Linked DNA regions of Homo sapiens: region 2 is linked to region 1. The links are contacts of gene promoters, found by promoter capture Hi-C in blood cells and fetal thymus (Javierre and others, 2016). All regions are on one chromosome and are shown on one strand. Each heading gives the region's core, a stretch centred on a gene start or on the middle of the fragment in contact. The rest is flanking DNA. Distances are from core to core; before and after follow the strand shown. Region 1 holds the start of ARMC12 (armadillo repeat containing 12). Region 2 overlaps FKBP5 (FKBP prolyl isomerase 5).

The links. The method cuts DNA at HindIII sites, captures the fragments that hold promoters and counts their contacts. A CHiCAGO score of 5 or more calls a contact.
Region 2: a contact is called between a fragment that was not itself captured here and the fragment with the promoter of ARMC12 in region 1, in 8 of 17 cell types (naive CD4 T cells, non-activated CD4 T cells, activated CD4 T cells and 5 more). The highest score is 14.1, in naive CD4 T cells.

The regions. Positions count from the first base shown.
Region 1 is chr6:35,735,231-35,738,913 of GRCh38, reverse strand. ARMC12 (armadillo repeat containing 12) reads right to left here and starts at 1,882. Exons shown (of 6, transcript NM_001286574.2): 1 at 1,643-1,882; 2 at 742-887; 3 at 396-530. The coding sequence starts at 1,805. LOC285847 (a long non-coding RNA gene) reads left to right here and starts at 1,967. Exons shown (of 10, transcript NR_027117.2): 1 at 1,967-2,073; 2 at 3,036-3,151; 3 at 3,550-3,683. RefSeq lists enhancers at 385-993, 994-1,602. The HindIII fragment of the contact is 11,422 bases long and covers 436-3,683 here.
Region 2 is chr6:35,625,024-35,628,374 of GRCh38, reverse strand. All of the region lies in intron 3 of FKBP5 (FKBP prolyl isomerase 5), which reads left to right. Among named protein-coding and RNA genes, the nearest start is that of MIR5690, 38 kb to the left of the region's middle. The HindIII fragment of the contact is 3,458 bases long and covers 1-3,351 here.

The sequences.
Region 1 (3,683 bases), core at 633-3,132:
AAGTCGGGGGGAAGTCTTGGGGGACTCAGCCCTTAACCTGTGAAGTCTGCCCTAACTATGGATAGTGTCTGAACTGAATTGAATTGTTGAACACCCAGCCAGTGTTGGGAATTGGTGTCAGAAAAAACGTGGCAGTGGTAGGGAGCTTGTGGGGTAGTGGGGGTCCTTCTCTTTGGGGTTGAGAGATACCACTAGTGCCTCAATTCAGTTTCATCCTGAAATTCAAAGGCCTTCATGACCCTGCTGGGAATCTGACCACCGTTTTCCCACTTATTTCTGGGTTACAAATTCACACCCAAACAAACTTCTGGAACATGACCATTTATCCTATGGCAATTAAAGGACTTAAGGACTATAGACATCCTGCATGCCCCACCACGCATCCCTGGGCTCACCTGGATTTTGAGCCTGAATTTTCTGATGCCAGAGAAAGCTTTAAGTGTATTCAGAGCTTGGGTTTTGACACTGTTGTCCTTGTCATCCAGCATGTAGCCCAGCAACACGATGTCATCCGTAGTACAAGCAGAGGCCTGGAGTATTGGGGAGAGATGGAAGAGGCAGGAGAAGCGGGTGTTCTGGGCCCACTGCCCCCCATGTCACCAAGATCCCTCCGCACACCCCCCCCCCACCGCTATCAGCCAGAGAGAGGTCCCAGGATATAGTCTGGCCATTCCAGGGGCAGGGATCGGCCGTAACCCCCAGGGGCCAGGCCGGCTAGGGGGGACCTCCTGCTTCCCTTACCTCAGCCTCCAGCAAGTACACACAGCGAGTGATACTGTGCAGGATCATGCTCTTGGCATACTCATCCTGTTTGCACTCCAAAGAGTTGAGGAGCCTCCGGAGCTCACCTGAGTCCCGCCCGTGCCGCTCTCGCTCGACTGCCAGGCCTAGACAGCCACCCCAGCCCAGTTCAGGCTGTGGACTCAGAAGTGATGAAAGAATGGGGTTGGGAAGTAGGGGACAGGGACTTGGGGACAAGGCTGCCTTGCCTTTTCGGAGAAGCCTTCTCGCCATATGCAGGACCACCATGTACAGTTGAACGAATGTTTACTGCACAAGGGCACCCTATCTAATGTTGTATTGTCCATAACGTACCATCATAGATTTGTCCATTTACTCTAACAACTGTCTGGCATATGGCGGTAACAAGTAGTATTTCATCATAACCAGTATGTGGCAATGATATTCCAGCAGATGGCAATAAAGAGTCTTGCAGAAGGGGCTCATTTTCCTACTCTGCACAAAAGAACATGTGGACTAGTGGAAGCTCTGGGCATATAGTAAGTCCTCCAATCTTCCCTTTCCTTAAAGCCTCACGTTCCTAGGGCAGAAAAGGGATGGGGGGAGCTGCCGACACCAAGTTTCCAAGAAGTGGAATCCTGGGAGCCAGAGGAAATGTAGTATTTGGAGACCTGCCAGATGAGTCTGAGGATCCACTTGAGTGAGATCCAGGGACCCTGAGCTAGCATCTCTGGCAGGGCCTTGCCTAGGACGCTGCAGGGTGGGCTTGAGGAAGATGGACAAGAGAAAGACAAAGGAAAGAGGAACTTGGAGGCATCACCTTTGGGCCCTCCCACAGCAGAGGCCTCGGGAGCAGGTGCCTCCTGGGGCAGAGCCCTCTCCCCAGGGCCCGGACACTCACGGGCGATGCAGATGGGTGAGTTGCTACAGAGGGGTGGTTTGCATTTTATGCCAGCCTTGATGGCCTTGTAGAGCAGGTAGATCGCCCCGGCGCCTGTGGCCAGGCTGACTACGCTTTTGCGGATGTCCAGTTGCCCCAGGTATTGGGGGATGCTCTTGCCCATGTCTTCAGTGTTGCCCTGGGCCCAGGTGAGAGCTAGGCCCAAGGCACCTGTGGGGGGCCTTCCGGAACCAGAACTCTGGCAGGGTCAGGAACCAGGGTACCAGAATTGGAACCTAGGCAACAAAGGAAACTGGGGAGATAATGGGATGGAGGGCAGTGGTCAGGAAATGGGGCAGCCAGGAGTGCTCGAGAACAGATGGGGCCAGGCACCATGGCCCACACTTGTAATCCCAGCACTTTGGGAGGCCAAGGCAGGCAGATCACTTGAGGTCAGCAGTTCGAGACCAGCCTGGCCAATATGGTGAAACCTTGTCTCTATTAAAAATACAAAAAAATTAGCCAGGCATTGTGGCGCACACATGTAATCCCAGCTACTCAGGGGACTGAGGCAGGAGAATCGCTTAAGCCTGGGAGGTTGAGGTTGCAGTGAGCTGACACGCCACTGTACTCCAACCTAAGCGACAGAGCAAGACTCCATTTCAAAAAAAAAAAGAGAAGGTTCTGCTTTAGAGACCACAGGAGATGAAGCATAAGACAGAAGGGGAATAAAAGGGGAGAGGGCAGAAGTGTCCTTCACATCTCCTCTTCTTTAAGGGGGGACCCCAGCAGGTAGCTCCAGAGGCTGCCTTTCCACCATTAGAGGGCAGCAGAGGTCCATTTCCGGGCTGGGGCCTTAGGGCATTTCTGGGTGAGGTGTTTGGGGTATGCCCATTGACAACCCTGTTCCTTTTCTTTCCGGGCCCTCCCATATGTGATCTCTCCACCCTAGATCTACCCCTGGGCCTTGGGGTGTTTCTTCAGGTAGGGTTCCCTCCCCGCATCAGAGGATGAAAAGGAGGGGAGTATCTTAGAAAGCATGCACAGACTCTTGAGGCAAATCCACCCTTTTCCAGCATCTGCATGTTGCCCTGAAGTTTACCTGTTTGACAAAGTGCTCTTGAGGACAGCTACCTTTGCATCTCCAGCATAGAATCTTGTACTTAGCAGGTGGTTTAAGTCATGTTCTGCCATTCTTTAAGGACTTGGCGGCAGAACAATGACAGCATCTAGTAACTGGGGCTCCAGACCCTTCTAACCAGAGTGACCTTGGAGGAGAAAGGGATCGCCTTTGCCTTAGTCTGTTTCTGCATTTGTAACCTAAAGGGATTCGGATTTACCATTCTAAAACTCCAGGATTAAAATGTGGGTAAGTCTGTGCCTTTCAGCTAAATTTGGAAGTATCACCTCTCAGCCTCCCCAGGGATATGAGGCGGCTTGTGAGGTCCTCTGGAGTCAGAAGATGCCACCACCCCAGAGGATGTGAGCCCACCTGTGGAGGTCTTGATCCCCACCACTAGGATGGGGCAGGTGAGACCAGACCCTTCCCTCTTCCCCACCAGGGTCTCCCCGCAACTTCTGTCCCCACTCTCTGTTGCAGAACAGGCAAGTGGCCAGCTCCAAACTAGGGCCACGCCCACAGCCAGTGCTGAGCATGCTGCACCAGAACAGGTGTTCACCTACCTGGCCCTGATCCCTTTTTGGGAGAACTGGGACAGAAGGCTCTGGGTCCTGGGCTGCACCCAGGATGGAAGGAGGTAGGGAAACAGCATCTCCAATGATGCTGCGGCCAGCCAGGCCTGCCCACTCAGAGCCTTGGCCCAGTACACCCTAGGCAGCAGGCAGGGAACAAGCAACACTCCTGGGTGGCCATTCTATTCCTGTCCTCAGCCCTCCTCAAGGGTCATCATTCCTGGCACTCTATTTAGCCCCAAGGTGGGTGACTACATGAACTCCCTGTGGTGAGGGGTGAGTAGAAGCCCATGGAAGCCTCCCCACTGCCATGCAACCCCATCGCATCTCCACTGAACTCCGAGCAGAAAACGGCTGCCTGATGGGAACT
Region 2 (3,351 bases), core at 373-2,872, 110 kb after region 1:
TTTTTTTTCTGTATGATATGGTGTAGCTTTCATCCTATAGTGTGTTCAAGATGCTCATATTCAAATGTAAATGTACATTTAAAAGGTAGTGATTTTTCAACAAGGGTGCCAAGACCATTCAGTGGGAGAAAGAACAGTCTTTTCAACAAATGGTGTTGGAAAAGCTAGATATCCACATGTAAAAGAATGAAATTGGGTCCTTATCTTACACCATCTGCAAAAATTAACTCAAAATGGATCAAAGACCTAAATGCAAGATCTAAACCTTGCATTAGAAACCTTCCCATAAGAATATGGAGGAAGGCCGGGCACAGTGGCTCACACCTGTAATGCCAGCACTTTGGGAGGCCGAGGCGGGCGGATCACCTGAGGTTAGGAATTCAAGACCAGCCCTGACCAATATGGTGAAACCCCGTCTCTACTAAAAAAAAAAAAAAAAAAAAAAATTAGCTGGGCATGGTGGCGCATGCCTATAATCCCAGCTACTTGGGAGGTGGAGGCAGGAGAATCGCTTGAACCCGGGAGGCAGAAGTTGCAGTGAGCCAAGATCACACCATTGCACTCCAGCCTAGGCAACAAGAACGAAACTATGTCTCAAAAAAAAGAAAAAAGAAAAGATAAAGAATATGGAGGAAAGGCTTCATGACATTGGATTTTGCAGTGGTTTCTTGGCATGACATCAAAAGTACAGGCAACAAAAGTAAAACAATTAAACATAAATTACTGTACATCATAAATTAAACATAAATTAGAATACATCAAAATTAAAAACTTTTGTGCATCAAACAGTAACAGAATGAAAGGCAGCCTATGGAATGGGAGAAAAATGTTTGCAAATCTTATATCTGATAAGGGATTAATACCCAGAATACACAAACAACTCCTATAACTCAACAAAAACAACAAAATAGCCCAATTTAAAAATGGGTAAAGGACCAGTTGCAGTGGCCATACCTGTAATCCCAGCATTTTGGGAGACCTAGGTGGGAGGGTCACTTAGACGCCAGGAGTTCAAGACCAGTCTGGGCAACATAGCGATACCCTGTCTCTAAAAACTTTTTAAAAACTGGGCAAAGGGCTTGAAATTTCTCCAAAGAAGATATAAAAATGGACAACAAGCATATGAAAAGATGTTCAACATCACTAATCATTAGGGAAATGCAAGTCAAAACCACAGTGAAGTATTACCCTCATACCGGTTAGAATGGGTACTGTTAAAAAAAGAGAAAACAACAAGTGTTGATGAGGATGTAGAGAAATTGGAACCCTTATGCGCTGTTGGTGGGAATGTAAAATAGTGCAGCTGCTGTGGAAAACGGTATGGAAGTTCCTCAAAAAATTAAAAATAGAGTTACCATGTTGATCTAGCAGTTCTACTTGTGGGCATATAACCAACAGAATTGAAAGCAGGGTCTTGAAGAGATATTTGTACACTCATGTTTGTAGCAGCATTATTAACAGCAACCAAAAGGTGGAAGCAACTCAAGTGTCCTTCAATAGATGAATAGATAAACAAAATGTGATATAAACGTACAGTGGAATATTTACGTTTTAAAGAAAAATTCTGGCAGATGCTACAACATGGACGAACCTTGAGGGCATTATACTAAGTGAAGTAATCCAGTGACAAAAAGAAAAGTACTGTCTGATTCCACTTATATGAGTTATCTATCCAGAGTAGTCAAATTCATAAAAACAAAGTAGAATAGAAGTTGCCAAAGATTAGGGAAGGAGGAAATGCTTAATGGGTATAAAATTTTAGTTTTGCAAGATGAAAAAGTTCTGGAGATTGGTTGCACAACAATGTGAATATACTTAAAAATAGTGAACTGTGCACTTTAAAATAGCTAAGATGGTAAATGCTTTTTTTTATCCCCCCACAATTAAGCGTTTTTTTTAAAACTCAAGGAGAAAACATTATGTAGTCAGAATGTTCTGAAGTGGTCACTATAGTCTTTACTATAAATGAAACTGTTAAGTGATTAAAATGTTGTATCTTAAAATATGTTATATAATTTTTTTAAACCAGAAAAAAGTGTAACATTACAGAAGGAAGAAAAAGTATAATGCATTGCTTTTATACTGGGCTTTGTATGCTTTTAAACTTTTTCACCTGCCTATAGTTACATACGTATAAAAAGCATTTAAATTTAGTAATAGCTATATTATACATTTGTATACATATATATTCTTGTTTTATATTTTATTACAAATGGAATAAGACTCCTGAAATTGATAAATTGTGTATAAGCTAGTAAAACTGAAGTCCAGATCAAGTGTAAGAATAAATTGACGTGGCCAGGCACGGTGGCTCACGCCTGTAATCCCAGCACTTTGGGAGGCTGAGGCAGGCGGATCACGAGGTCAGGAGATCGAGACCATCCTGGCTAACACGATGAAACTCCATCTCTACTAAAAATACAAAAAATTAGCCAGGAGTGGTGGCTAGCGCCTGTAGTCCCAGCTACTCGGGAGGCTGAGGCAGGAGAATGGCGTGAACCCGGGAGGCGGAGCTTGCGGTGAGCAGAGATAGCGCCACTGCACCCCAGCCTGGGCGACAGAGCGAGACTCCATCTCAAAAATAAATAAATAAATAAATAAATAAATTGACATTATGTATTCTTGGTGTGTTTTTTTTTGAGACGGAGTCTTGCTCTGTCGCCCAGGCTGGAGTGCAGTGGCGCAATCTCGGCTCACTGAAAGCTCCGCCTCCCGGGTTCACGCCATTCTCCTGCCTCAGCCTCCCGAGTAGCTGGGACTACAGGCACTCACCACCACGCCCGGCTAATTTTTTGTATTTTTAGTAGAGACGGGATTTCACCGTGTTAGCCAGGATGGTCTCAATCCTCTGACCTCGTGATCTGCCCACCTCATCCTCCCAAAGTGCTGAGATTACAGGCGTGAGCCACTGCACCGGCCTATTCTTGGTGTATGTTACCTATGACTGAGATCCTGAAGATGAAGAATCTTTAAAATGTTTATGCTTTGGGGGTTGGGCATGGTGACTCACACCTGTAATCCCAGCACTTCGGGAGGCCGAGGTGGGCAGACCACTTGAGGTCAGGAGTTTGAGACCAGCCTGACCAACGTGGTGAAACCCTGTCTCTACCAAAAAATACAAAAATTACCTAAGCGTAGTGGCACGTGCCTGTAATCCCAGCTACTTGGGAGTCTGAGGCACGAGAATTGCTTGAACCCAGGAGGCAGAGGTTGCAATGAGCCAAGATCGTGCCACTGCACTCCAGCCTGGGCAACAAAGTGAGACCGTGTCTCAAAAAGAAGAAAATATTTATGTTTTTGGTCCAGTAATTCTACATCTAGGAATTTAACCTAAGGAAATGTGTAGAAGCT